3 separate regions of the Homo sapiens genome follow, and all the other regions are linked to region 3. The links are contacts of gene promoters, found by promoter capture Hi-C in blood cells and fetal thymus (Javierre and others, 2016). All regions are on one chromosome and are shown on one strand. Each heading gives the region's core, a stretch centred on a gene start or on the middle of the fragment in contact. The rest is flanking DNA. Distances are from core to core; before and after follow the strand shown. Region 1 overlaps ASB7 (ankyrin repeat and SOCS box containing 7). Region 2 holds the start of SPATA41 (spermatogenesis associated 41). Region 3 holds the start of CHSY1 (chondroitin sulfate synthase 1).

Region 1 (4,563 bases), core at 1,782-4,281, 600 kb after region 3:
GGGTATACAAGAGAAGTCATGAGATCCAGTGGGCCATATGATGGCTGACCCTTTGTTTCATTTAACAGGTAATAACAAAATAACTAAAGACAGAATAAAGAAAAATTATCTTTGTAACTTAGTATCTTGAGTTCTATCATCAAAACTTGTAAAACTTCCCTGTTACTCCTTCAGTTAAGCACACACAGTTACATTAAGTTATATAAATACAGGCAGAGGATACAAATCCATTTTCTTTCATCTTAGATATCCAAATAAGTGAGATGTGGAACTATTTTTTTATCAAGTAGATAATGTTTTATCAATAGCTGTAAACCATTTTTGTAAACTGTCTTTCAGCTGAGAAAACAATACACTGCTTCTGTCATATTGGAAAAGGAATGATCTCAAGGTTTCCAAGCAACACAGCAATTTTTCAAAGCTGAACTCCCCTGCTGATCATTAGAAATAGTTTCAAATGTCCTATTCTTGGCCTTCATTTGTGCCAAACCCTGGACAAGGCTGCAACAAGATTATAGTTCCAAACCATCCCATCTCTGCACGGGGTGCTAAGCAGTCCCTCTTCCCTTTCTCTTAGTGCCACACCATCATCCACATTCACTTCGGGTCTCTCCTGAATCAAGCTGTGCTTATGTTTTATAGAGGAAATGTGAAATCAAAGTTGTTTTGCTTCATCTCCTGCAGGGTAACTCCGTCAGATGCATTGCTTTGACTGCATGCTGTCCTACGTTTAGAAGCGCTGTGGTCTAAACCCTGTCGTGAGTCAAGGTGTGGCACGCACGGGGCAGGTGGCGATTACGGCCCAAGAAGGCCCAGTGCTGGGTCGATACACTCAACACTGTGATCATCTTTTGTTGGTGGGTATTTGCAGAATGCATTGAACAAATTAAAGGAGGGTAAGAAATGGCTTATCTGGTGACAATGGAGAGTGGTATTGTTTTCCACATCATCATATTCTTAAACAACTCCCAGCGATCTAAAATGCTGATGAAGGAAGGATAGAGTTTTATTTATTTTCACCAAATAGCTGGACATATTAAAAACTTAAGGTAGACTGGAAATAAAATACAACTCCAACATGTTTTAAATCAGATTTGATTTTTTTAATTCAAATTGACCCAAAGCAAAACTTACATTAAAAAGGAAGAACAAAATACATTATGATATAACACACTAGGAGTTACATGAAAGCTAAATTTGTGGGCAAATGGCCTTATCCCAATCACATTCTGGGCTCATGAGCACTCCTGCAGGAAAGTTAGAATCTCAATTTCGTATGGTCCACGCCGGTCATTAAACTACACATTCTTGTCTCTTGGGGTGTGCATCTGACGAGTCATGCTAGAGTCCCTCATGCTCCAGATGTGTACTCTTGCTACTGCCAGAACGCTGGATTCTCTAGTGGAAATGCTGTTCCAAGCATGACTGACAATGAATTAAAAAATGAGACAGTCAAGTCCTCCAAACTAACAGGCATGGATTACTGTGTAGTAAATAGTTTAGAAATATGGGAATTAAATAATCTAAAAAACACTCTTACTCTGCTGTACATTTATAAACACAAATATTTACAAAAAAAAAAAAACACAAAACCTTGTTTTCGAAAGATGAGGTTTGCAGTTCATTAATGATCATAATCTTTTGTAAGCTGGTTTCTTTGGTGTATTTGCCAAATATATTTTTATAAAGGTTTAGTAATAGGCTTAAATAATAAATTTCAAAGGAAACATAAAAGAATCTGACAAATTTGAAAATATTCTGAACATTTTCTGTTCTGTTTCTGGAAAAAACAATCGGTTGATTTTTCTGAAAATATCTGTTCTCCCTATTCATTATGTGACCATGGAATGCTTCTCTGTGAATCCAATTCAAATGCAGACCTGCAGGTGTCACCACTATCATCTACCAGTAACCCACCTGGAGACATTTTAGTTATTGTGAAATGTGATTGGGATTTTATTAACAACAAAAATAAAACATTCTTTTTAAGCTTCCAGATAAATCAAACCTCAAACAATAAATAATGGAATTATACACTTCTTCATTAAATAGAAATTTCAAAATTCCAGGAAGAGCTCTCATAATTTTTTTTTTCTGAAGTCACAGCAGCAATACAGAACAAAGAATTTACCTTAATCTGATCTTTTTACGTGGAATTCCCTGACTCAAACTCAGTGGCTTAGTTTGGAAACCTCTGAATGGCTGGGGAGAGAAAATCTTTTGAAACTAAGTGAATAAATTAACACACACATACGTGGAAATCAGCCCTTGTGCAAGTGTAACATGAACATCACTGATGAGAGTGCAGAAACTCCAGGCACCCCTCTGCCTCCTCCTATCCCTGGGCCTGGGGTTGTAGGGAGAAGTCACACTCAATTCATTTCTAGCCACACCATGTCCCTAACAGTGCTAGTGTGAACTAGCCCTGACCTGGGTATTGGTTTAAAGAATGAGAATACAGCTTGGCAACTGTCTTCATAAGGGACTCTCTCTGGAGATAACTTTTTGGAACATTTTTATGGGGAAGAGGACAGACTACCCGTTCCTATCCATCAGGCTCCAGCTAGTTTGGGGATGGTTATAGAACTGGCCACACTCAGAGTGGCTGCCTGCGAAAGAGTCTATGCCAAAGAGTCTATGGGCCACACCAGCAATCTCCCGAATAATCCTCTTCTCTGAAGCTGCCCGTCTTCGGAAACCTGTGCAATGCTTAGGCACAAGCAGATCAGAGTCTAAGAGCAAACGCTGTGCTTGAGAAAACAGCACTGCTGGCTCTGAAAAAGGTGAAGCCAGAGAAAACTCCTAGTTCTGCTTAGTTACACTTCTGGGTGAAACAGTTTTACACTTCATGACTTAAATCTAGAAATTCAGACGAGAGAAGCCCTTCGTCTTGTAAACTTCTGATAACAAATTTATTAACAGTGTGTTAAATATTTTTTCCCAAAGCACTAAGAACGATACTGGGACATTTGAAAAGGTTCTTCTGAAGTTAATAACACAAATCAAGCCAGAATACGTTTCTGAGGGCATCCTCTTAGATGCCTAATGCCTCTGGGACCTTTTCCATTGTTACTGACACTTTATCATATCCGTGTTTACACGGCAAACATATGCCCAATCAACCCAGAAAATAATTGTCCTGAAGAGCCTCACTGTATATAACCTTAAAATGGGAAATGTTTAATTAGCATATTAGAAATTAGCCAGACTTATAAATGTGTACCCCTTAAAGATTTTACGCTTAAAAAGTTTTTTTTTTAAACTGGGAAGAAAAGAAACACCATGAAGCCACCCCAAATTATTGAACCATTAAAGCCAAATGATTTAACAATTTTTAAGGGAAGACTCGACCACCAGGGTACAAAATTTTCTGCTTAAAGTGAAGTCAAAGACATAGCTTCAGATGGAAATTGCAACTGACATACGATGGCTCTGCAGTGACAACTGAAGCGGCGGCTCCTGTCCTCACGGGCATGTCAAAGCTGGCTGTGAAATGACGACCAGCAAGTGAAATAATGGATAAAATACACCAGAAGGAGTATTGCACTGCAGGCACAGTTTTAAAAACAGAATACACTGGCTTCACAAAGTTATTTTCTTTCCCGTTAATTTTTTTAAAAGTACAACTCTAACTAGAGATAGAAATCGAGATGCAGTGTCTCAGGGTAGTGTACTACAGTTGTTAAAAAAAAAATAAGTTAAAAACAAGAGCACAGCAAAAGAAAAGCAGAGGTACTGGATTTATGTCATAAGCAGAGATACTGGATTTATGTCATCCGAAAGCTACATTAATTAGGAAAAAGAACAGTTTGAAACGGCCAGTTTGTACTCATTAAAAATGAATGAGGTGACAGCGTTACTTCAAACATTTCTTAGGGCATTTTCCAAAAGAACCCAGGGTCGCCCTGGGTGAAACTGTGCCTCCAAACGTTAACAAGTGCTCTGCTGGTTTAGAATACCGTGCTTACCAAGGAACCATAAATTTGGAAAGGGTAAATTCTCCACTCTAAACCTGCTTGTGTCATTTAAGAAAAGACAATTTTTCTAAATGCAGTATTGTATACAAAGCTTGGACCTCTTAAACTTGGACCAAGAAACCAAATTAAGACCTTCAAGCATGTGGTGTGTGTTTTTATATATATATAAAAAATCCCTCCCCTACAATGAAAACCAACCAAACAAACAGAAAACCCAAAAGTGTATACCTGCTTTCTGATTTCACAGCAAATCAGAAATTGCATAGGATATACTTTGTGCAAGGCAAAAAGCCTTTTAAGTATCTAGAATAGAACTCCTAATCTTGCTCACAGTTCTGGCATATCAGATATCATCAAATTTGTGTTTTAAGTAGTCTTTCATGACCTTGGCAATTGGTAGTTCATCAAGTAGCTTTAGGTTTTGAAGGCCTATACATTGTCGAATTTTAATTCGGCACAGGTCCTGCAAGTTTCTGGGCTGTCCTAAAAAGACAGAAAAAAGAAAATGTTACAAAGCCACAAAGCACAATATTTAAGGCACTTTTGAAAAGAACTGTTCATTTCCCTGGAAGTTCTCTCTATGGAC
Region 2 (4,696 bases), core at 902-3,401, 900 kb after region 3:
AACTATAGGCAATATCTTTCTCTTCACTTTGGAAGATGAGGGAACTTGCCCCCTATACGTTTCTTTGTTTCTTTTTAACTTCCATCTCTTCTCCTTTGTTATCTACTCTTTTACTTTGACATTGTTATGGATGACAACTTTTACAATTGATTCTGCAGCCGGGATGATATATTCTGCTATTTCTTTTTGGTTGATTCTAAAAGTTGAAAATCATTGCACAGTGTTTACATTATGATTTTGATATAATTATTATATAAGTCTTTTCTGAAGTTAAGCATGTATCATGACTATATTTCCCTTTGTTGTGGGATATTTTGGCCCTTTTTTTCTTTCCTTCTGTCTTTTGTGTGTGTGTGTTTCTGTTTAGCTTCTGGACACTGGGACTTCCATTTCCTCTCTGATGGTGTCAGCAACACAATGCAAGCACCACATTCATTGTTTCCTAGGGAAGCTAAACAGTTCCATTCCTGGACCTATACCATGGGTGGGTAGAGAGGCTGCACACAGGGACCAACTAGCCATCTGGCTGCTCTTGCAGATGTACTTACCCTGCTCAGCCTACAGGTTGCTTTTGGGTGCCCTAAATTTTTTATAGCCACTTCTTGCACACCTCCATTAGATGAATGCTTTCATATAAATCTTTAACATGCCTTAGAATTAATTTTAGTTTGTGTTATGACTCTGTAGTTGTTAGCTATTGCTGCATAACAAATTAGTCCAAAACTTAGTGACTCAAAACACTAATAATAATTTATTTTCTCTTGTTTTTTTAACGGTCTGGAATTCAGCCAGGGTGGACACAGTGGGAAGGGCTTGTCTCTACTCATGGTGTTTGGGGCAGACTCAAAGGCTGGGGGCTGAAATCATCGGAAGGCCTGACTGAGGGTAGAGGATCTGCTTCCAAAATGACTCACTCACATGACAAATTAGTTGGTTCTGGCAAGTTGGCCTCCTTTCCAAGAAGTGCCTCTCCACACATGTGCTTCTCTGCAGGGTTGCTTGAGTGTCCTCATGACATGGCTGGTGGTTCCCAAAAAAGCAAGTGATCCAAGAGCAACATTCAGGAATAAGTTCAATCCTTTCTATGACCTAGCCTCAGAACTCACAAAGCATCACTCTCAATACGCCCTATTCATCAGAAGCCAGGCAGTAATTCCAGCACACTTTCTAGGCAGAGGAATTAGGTACACCTGTTGAAGGGAAGCAGGTCATAATTAGAGGATATATTTTTGAACCACCACAGAATCTAACTTAGGTTCGTACAAATATATAAACAGCTGTCCAATACCACATATTGAATAGTCTATCATTACTATATCAGTCTGAGCCATGACTATTTGCATTTACTAAGAATGTGTGTTATTACCATTGAAGACCTTCCAGTGGGACAAGATGTGAAAGCAGAAGACAGTGGTATTGATGATCCTGACCCTGTATAGGCCTAGGCTAATGTGTGTTTGTGTCTTAATATTTGACAAAAAGTTTAAAATGTAAAAAATAAACAACTTCAAAAGTAGGAAAAAAGCTTATAGAATAAGGATATGAAGAATGAAAATATTTTTGTATAGCTGTACAATGTGTTTGTGTATTCAAGCTGTTATTAAAAGAGTCAAAAAATTTAAAAATTCTTAAGGTAGAAAAGTTACAGTAAGCTAAAGTGAATATATTATTGAAGGAAAGAAAATTTTTAAAAATAAATTGAGTGTGGGCCTAGTGTACAGGGTTTTAAAGTCTACAGTAGTGTACAGTAATGTCCTAGGCCTTCGTATTTACTCACCACTCACTTACTGACTCACCCAGAGCAACTTTCAGTCCCGTAAGCTCCAAGCTTACGGTAGGTGCCCTAGGCAGGTGCACCAGTTTCAATCTTTCATACCATATTTTTACTGTATCTTTTCTATGTTTAGATACACAAATACTTACCATTGTGTTACAGTTGCCTACAGTGTTCAGTACCACACTGTACAGGTTTGTAGTCTAGAAGCACAGCCTACAGCCTGGGTGTGTAGTAGGCTGTGCTGTTTAGGTTTGGGTAAGTACACTCTATATTGTTTGCACAATGATGCAATTGCCTGACGATGCATTTCTCAGAACGTCTGCTCACTGTTACGCAACGGAGGACTGTGAATTGGGAGTTTATTTTGTTTTTCAGTCTGTACTGGCAGCGAATCATACATAGCTTAGTTTATCAGACAAGCTGCTTTTCTTGAGCAAAGAAAGAACTAGGAGAGAAACGGGGCTTTGGAACCCTGATGCGGCAATGCTGAAAGAGGAGAAATATCCCAAGGAAGGGAAAGGTGTGTTGCAGAACGATGAAAAATAGGCGGCTTCTCACAGCTGTTCTCAGGGGACGAGACGGGGTGGGATGCAGCTCCGCCGGTGCCTAACACTAAGGGCCCTCATCCTGCCGATTCAGTTGTGTCGGGACCGCCAGTGCTGTCTCCTCGTCAGATGCTGCTTCTGGTCTCCCCGCAGAAGATGCCACTGGAGTTGCCTTTTCAAGGATGGGGACATTTGAAGGCCCTGGACGCTCAGCTCTGAGGCTGGCTGGGATCTCACTAGCACCCCCTGGTGGAGGCCGGAGCCAGGCTGACGCGGGAAAGTGGGGCACGGAAGCGCTGCGGATTGGACCGGCGGCAGCTAGGCCGAAACGCCTGTATTTAAAGGGATAGTAACTCGGACTCGTTCTGCAATATCCCCACAAGGGCCTGACTGAGCGAGCGAGCATGGACGGCCGCGGGGCTTTCTGGACAGTGGCCATTCCCAGAGCCAGGCAGGAAGGCCTCGGGAGGCTGGGGCTCCCGTTCCCGGTGAAGCGGACGCCGCCAGCGCCCCAGAACCCAGGAGGAAGCACACAGGCCCCACAGAGAGTGGTTGGCAAGAGTCACTCGGGGATTAGGATGCCGGCCAAATCGCGGAATTTGAGGCTGGAATCCAAGCTCAACAGGAAAGTAGTGAAATACAAATGGGGAAAACAGGGCTCTGGAGCGGGGAGGGAGCTGGTGCCGGCATTTCCCACCAACGCCGGTTTAGGAAGACGGGACCGATGCCGGCCGCCCCCTGCTGGAGGGGATGTGGCATCTCACGGGCTGCCAGGGAGCGGGGTTGGCTACTCCTGCAACCAGCGTGAAGAGGGTCTCAGGGGAGGCTGTGGTGGGATCCCCCACGTGCCCTTGTTCCTCTCACCGTTACCTCTGGATGCCTCGGGGCAAAGGCCTTCTTCCACCTATAGACAGAGTCTACGCAGGGGTCTTGGAACCCGGGCACACCAGTCCCCAGCTAACGAAATCCCCGAGTTGGGGGATTTGAGAGGGTCACGTTTGGCCCAAGAACCCGCAGTCCTCTTTGGTCTTCGGCCCTCTATTTCTAAGCGTGGGCTTCTGGCACGGCGGCTCTGGGCACAGCCCATGCTGCTTTCGGGCTGGGTGGTTTCAACGACGACAACAATTATCACAGTGACGGTGACCTTCACCCCAACAGGACTGCTGTGTGTGAAGCACTCAAGAGGGCCCCTACAACCAACCTGCCAGGAGTCGGCTCCTGAAAACAGGGTCGGAAAAGGTCAGTGCCCATCAGAATCGAGCTGTCGGCAAAAAGCTGGAGAGGTTAGGAGCTTTGTCTATCTCAAGGGTAACAAACTGCTTTGACCCTGAGGGCTCTGAAGACGACTTTCCCTCACCGCAGCTCTCAAGACAACAGGGATCAGACTCAGAAAGACACTGCCTGTATAAGGCTCTTGTTTGTCTTGTTTTTAATTCCTGCCCTCTGCCTCCAGATCTCAGTCCTCTATCTGTGAAACGGAATTCGGCCTTGCCTGTCCACGAAATGAAGACAAGGCATCTCGTGTGTGTTAAGATGAAACAAGATCTTAGCAAGAGAGTAATGATTTCTTTTTTAAAACATTTTTTACTGTAGTAAAATGTACTATAACGTAAAATTACCATTTCAATCATTTGTAAGTTCAGTGGCATTAAGTACATTCACATTGTCGGGCAGCTGTCAGAGGTGTTCGAACCAGAGCGACTCCATCTTGAACAGGTGCTGCGCAAAATGAGGCTGAGACCTGCTGGGCTGCATTCCCAGGAGGTTAGGCATTCTTCGTCACAGGATGAGTCAGTGGCTGCCAGGGAGGCAGGTTGGTTACCCCAGGAACCAATGAATTGCATCTCAGGGGAGGTTTTGCCAGATACAGGTCACAAAGACCCTGCTGATAAAACAAGATGCGGTAAAGAAGCTGGCCAAAACCTACCAAAACCAGATGGTGACAAAAGCAACCTCTGCTCGTCCTCACTGCTCATTATACACTAATTATAATGTATTAGCATGGCAAAAGACACTCCCGCTAGTGCCATGGCAGCTTACAAATGCCATGACAACATCTACTTAGTTAAATTTGCATACTATGAATATGAGTATGCAAATACCTGTTGGAGTCCCCGCTTTCAAAGCTTTGGGGTACACATCCAGAAACGGAATTGCTGGATCATAGGGTAAATCTATTTTGGAGGAATAGTCGTACTGTTTTCCACAGTGACTGTACCATTTTACATTCCCACAAAATTATTTCTTTCTATCTGCCTTCCCCCACTAGATAGAACACAGGGAAGTTACTTTTTCGTTTCTAAATCCCCAGCACCAGGAACAGTGTCTAGTTCATAACAGAGCTCTATAGAGAACTGTGGGGAAAGAAGTGCAA
Region 3 (4,618 bases), core at 230-2,729:
GTAAGTCTAAAGCAGGTTAGAAAATACTGAAATCGTTGAATATGCTACAAAATTGAACATCTGAATCTGGCCAGATTCGTACTTCATGTAAATCACTGTGAATGATGGGGCTGCTGAATTTGGGGGATCTGGTGACTCCTCGGCATTTGTGGTTTATGGTCTTAGTGGAAACCTTTTTCGATGGTTTTCGAGCCTGTAATTCATGGTTGTATGTTCTGTATTTTTCCCAAGACCACTGCTGGAATCCTGTATTCACTGCATAATGAGTATTTTATTTTTAGATGTGGATCACCCCTTAGGGAGGGGCTCTGTGGGAAGGTAGGTAATGAACTATTTTTAATATAAATCACAAGTGTCAAAGAAAGTGGTAATATCCAAAGAATAAACAAGAGTGACCACCATTCAGGTGCCGAGAAGGTATCTGAAGCTCCCACAGGCATTTTAAACTGTGTGATAGTATTTCAACCATTTGGTCAACAATGAAGAAAGATCCAAGGATTGCCCCAGGCATGTGTTTATTTGATTCAATGCAGGTAACTTCTCAGGCCCAGGGAAACACTTTGCCCTTCAAAAGTTTCATTAGAAAACCCCAATATACTGGTGACTAAGTAACAAGACTGAAACTCTACACAAACTTTCGTTGTATGGAGACCTCCGCTTTTGCTGCCTTAGCTGAAGTATTGCAGAGGAAATGTATAAAACTTAAAATCCAGAGTAGAGGATCTGGGACCCAAAATCCGTCTTTAGAAATCCACGGCACTTTTACAGACGGACTATATTAAAGTAGGGACAAAGTCCCAGGCTGGGGGTACTAGCCGGCTATCTGCCCACACAGTATGTAAATGAAAGTAGGGTTTACCATCCAGGGCATTAACTTCATTTTCCTTGTCTTCGAGATCCATTAAATGCTAGTACTGTATGAGAAGCGTGGACCTTAAGTATTAAAGATGGCTTTTTCTTCTTCTTCTTCTTATTTAGCGTAGAAACTAGCAACAGGGAACAAGGTAACTGAATTCACGGTCCACTCGCAGGCGCGCACGTCCCCAGGGCTCCGGGACGGCTGTTCCCTGCGTGCGGCCGCGGGACTGCGGACAAAGCTGCAGTGTGGTCGGGAGCGCGGGGCCGGGAGCGCGGGGCCGGCCCGGCGGCAGGAAGGGCGTGGCCGTGGGGTGCAGCGAGGACGGCCCGTGCGGGAGGAACGTGCGCAGCGTGGAGTCTGGGGGCCGAGAAGCCCCCACTGCAAGGCTGGCTCCCGAGATTCGCGCCCGGGCGCCGCGGTGCGGGAAGCGGCCGTCCTCGCGGGGACGCCCTTGCGCCGGGTGCTAGGTGCGGATCACGGGCAGCTCCGGCCCCGCGGGCGCCGGGCGGGGGCCCACGCCCCCTCCGCCCGCCAGCTCCAGTCGCAGACCGCGCGGGCGGGGCGCCCGAGAGGGCTTTTTTTTTTTTTGGTCAAACTTCGGCCACGTGAACCGCCCCTCATTCACTTTTGCGCCAATCGCGCGGCGCGGACGGATCCCGAGAGGGGCCACGGCTCGCCGCCGGCGGGGCCACTTCATAACGCGCCGTGCGTGACGTGAGGGGCTCCTGTTGCAATGGCGAGCTAAGCCGGAGGATGTGCAGCTGCGGCGGCGGCGCCGGCTACGAAGAGGACGGGGACAGGCGCCGTGCGAACCGAGCCCAGCCAGCCGGAGGACGCGGGCAGGGCGGGACGGGAGCCCGGACTCGTCTGCCGCCGCCGTCGTCGCCGTCGTGCCGGCCCCGCGTCCCCGCGCGCGAGCGGGAGGAGCCGCCGCCACCTCGCGCCCGAGCCGCCGCTAGCGCGCGCCGGGCATGGTCCCCTCTTAAAGGCGCAGGCCGCGGCGGCGGGGGCGGGCGTGCGGAACAAAGCGCCGGCGCGGGGCCTGCGGGCGGCTCGGGGGCCGCGATGGGCGCGGCGGGCCCGCGGCGGCGGCGGCGCTGCCCGGGCCGGGCCTCGCGGCGCTAGGGCGGGCTGGCCTCCGCGGGCGGGGGCAGCGGGCTGAGGGCGCGCGGAGCCTGCGGCGGCGGCCCGGCGGGCGGAGCGGCGCGGGCATGGCCGCGCGCGGCCGGCGCGCCTGGCTCAGCGTGCTGCTCGGGCTCGTCCTGGGCTTCGTGCTGGCCTCGCGGCTCGTCCTGCCCCGGGCTTCCGAGCTGAAGCGAGCGGGCCCACGGCGCCGCGCCAGCCCCGAGGGCTGCCGGTCCGGGCAGGCGGCGGCTTCCCAGGCCGGCGGGGCGCGCGGCGATGCGCGCGGGGCGCAGCTCTGGCCGCCCGGCTCGGACCCAGATGGCGGCCCGCGCGACAGGAACTTTCTCTTCGTGGGAGTCATGACCGCCCAGAAATACCTGCAGACTCGGGCCGTGGCCGCCTACAGGTGAGCCCCTGCTCCCCGGGCACCGCCTCCTGCGTCCGGCATCCCGGCGGCCGGCATCCCGGGTGCTCTCCTGGCTCTCGCCTCCGCCCGCTTCCTAGGCCCTTCTTGGGCTTCCGGCGGGATCGGGTTGCCTCTCGGGAGACGCCGGGCCGAGGGAGAAAAGATCAGAGGCGGGATGGTGAGCGCGGCGCTCAGGAACATGGCCTTTGGGGTCAGATGGACTAGTGTGGCCTCGCTGGGTGTACCTCTCACCCTGATGAAGGCACTTTAGCCTTTGCAAATCGAAGCTTCTCGTTAGAAGGGCCCGACAGATCGGGTCTCCCTCATAATGTTGGAAAACTCATAGCACAGTACCTGATAGTGGAGGCAGTTGGGGCTGATACTGGATTCCCTAAAATGTGCACCTTTGTCCTTGCAAAGCTGGAGCCCGTGTACGTTAATCTAGTTCTAGAACCTTTCCACATCATACTCTCACATTTCGCAGTTGGAGGCACTCCTATAAATGAAAGAGAATGCCCGCAGCATATTGGACCACACCAGTCTGTTGAGTACAGAGAGAGAGAACCTTGGGGAAAAGCAGTTCTTGGCCCTTGGTAGATTCAGTGGAAAACTGCATTCTGGTGTTAATTAGTTCAGCTTGGTGGTGTATGCATGTTATCCAGTAACTGGGCTCTAGTTGGCCAAATGAGTCATAAAAGCAGCTGGAATTGTGTTCAGGTTTAACAAAGGGATTAGCCAATGTAGTCTCTAGAAGGGAGATGATTTTGGAATGGCTGGCATGGTTAGAATCAGATTTGTATTGGAGTGAATTTGAAGTTGGAGAGGGTTGTAGACTCGATAAAGGGATTTGATGGAAACCCTATATGTGTGAAGTATAGAGACACTTACTGTATGGATAAAGTTTGGGTCTTATCCAGCCACAGAGCAAACCAATGTGGGGAATGGTTTTAGAGCATCAGTTGTCTGGTAATGAAATTTCAGAGCAGCCAGTGCTGAGCCAGGCTAAGCTGGTTGCTGTTTGTTCTTATAACCAATACCTTTACACTTCAGTTTTTAAATGCAGTCTTGGTCAGATTTTTCAGGCACTAGATGTTGTGAGGGGAAAAGCATATATGGTCTCCCTTGCCTTTAAGGGAGAAAGTAAAGGACTGAGAAAGAAGGTGAAAGTGGTCTTCAGTGACTGCCCCTTGAATGGCTTGATCCCCATTCCTGCACATTTCCATTAGGGTCCTGCTTAAGTCCAGAACCCACATTCCGCCAGGAAGGGTCCTGAGTGGCTTGAAAAGCTTAGAATGCAGGTATTGTAAATACAGACTAATGCAGGCGGGGCGCCGTGGCTCACGCCTGTAATTCTAGCACTTTGGGAGGCCGAGGCGGGCGGATCGCCTGAGGTCAGGAGTTCGACACCAGCCTGACCAATATGGTGAAACCCCGTCTCTACTCAAGAGTACAAAAATTAGCCGGGTGTGGTGGCGTGCACCTGTAGTCCCAGCCACTCAGGAGGCTGAGGCAGGAGAATCGCTTGAACCCAGGAGGCGGAGGTTGCAATGAGCCAAGATCATGCCACTGCACTCCAGCCTGGGCTACAGAGTGAGACTCCATCTCAAAAAAAAAAAAAAAAAAAAATTCTATCTATCGATCGATAGATAGAGATACATAGACTAGTGCAGTGATTTGGGAACCAGCCTATCAGGATCTCTCCCAGATCTACCTTGCATTACCTGAGGTTTTATGGGATTTTTTTTTTTTTTTTGACCAGAGAAACAGCCGTATCGGAAATCGAGGATGAGCCATATAGATTATTTACAGCATGGTTTTGAAAGTAAATCCGCATGACTCTAGTGTGGTGATAGACCATGTGAAATCACAGTTTTGGGGACAGTTAACAAACCAGTTAGTACAAACAGTAAATTAGGTAACTCCCTTATCTCCCCCATGCCCCCTGAACCAAATACATTTTCATGGTTACGGTATCAATATATTCAAATCAGTGGGGGGCCTAATGCACCAGCAATACTCAGAAAATGTAATGCAGGCCGGGCGCGGTGGCTCACGCCTGTCATCCCAGCACTTTGGGAGGCCGAGGCGGGCGGATCATGAGGTCAGGAGATCAAGACCATCCTGGCTAACACGGTGAAACCCCATCTCTACTGAAAATGCAAAAAAAAAAAAAAAAAAAAAAATTAGCCAGGCTTGGTGGCAGGTGCCTGTAGTCCCAGCTACTCGGG

What was found. The method cuts DNA at HindIII sites, captures the fragments that hold promoters and counts their contacts. A CHiCAGO score of 5 or more calls a contact.
Region 1: a fragment that was not itself captured here is called in contact with the fragment with the promoter of CHSY1 in region 3 in 1 of 17 cell types (M0 macrophages); the score reaches 6.2 in M0 macrophages.
Region 2: the fragment with the promoter of SPATA41 here is called in contact with the fragment with the promoter of CHSY1 in region 3 in 6 of 17 cell types (non-activated CD4 T cells, naive CD4 T cells, total CD4 T cells and 3 more); the score reaches 9.3 in non-activated CD4 T cells.

The regions. Positions count from the first base shown.
Region 1 is chr15:100,648,220-100,652,782 of GRCh38, reverse strand. It overlaps ASB7 (ankyrin repeat and SOCS box containing 7), which reads right to left. Exons shown (of 6, transcript NM_198243.3): 6 at 1,082-4,460. The coding sequence ends at 4,321. Among named protein-coding and RNA genes, the nearest start is that of ASB7, 48 kb to the right of the region's middle. The HindIII fragment of the contact is 2,078 bases long and covers 1,993-4,070 here.
Region 2 is chr15:100,348,173-100,352,868 of GRCh38, reverse strand. It overlaps SPATA41 (spermatogenesis associated 41), which reads left to right and starts at 2,151. Exons shown (of 2, transcript NR_028139.1): 1 at 2,151-4,135. It overlaps LOC105371021 (a long non-coding RNA gene), which reads right to left and starts at 3,263. Exons shown (of 3, transcript XR_007064777.1): 1 at 3,187-3,263; 2 at 1,924-2,494; 3 at 725-1,190. RefSeq lists an enhancer at 2,724-2,983. The HindIII fragment of the contact is 2,620 bases long and covers 1,831-4,450 here.
Region 3 is chr15:101,248,909-101,253,526 of GRCh38, reverse strand. It overlaps CHSY1 (chondroitin sulfate synthase 1), which reads left to right and starts at 1,479. Exons shown (of 3, transcript NM_014918.5): 1 at 1,479-2,390. The coding sequence starts at 2,071. RefSeq lists silencers at 1,015-1,394, 1,565-1,874, 2,065-2,494. The HindIII fragment of the contact is 7,881 bases long and covers 1-2,679 here.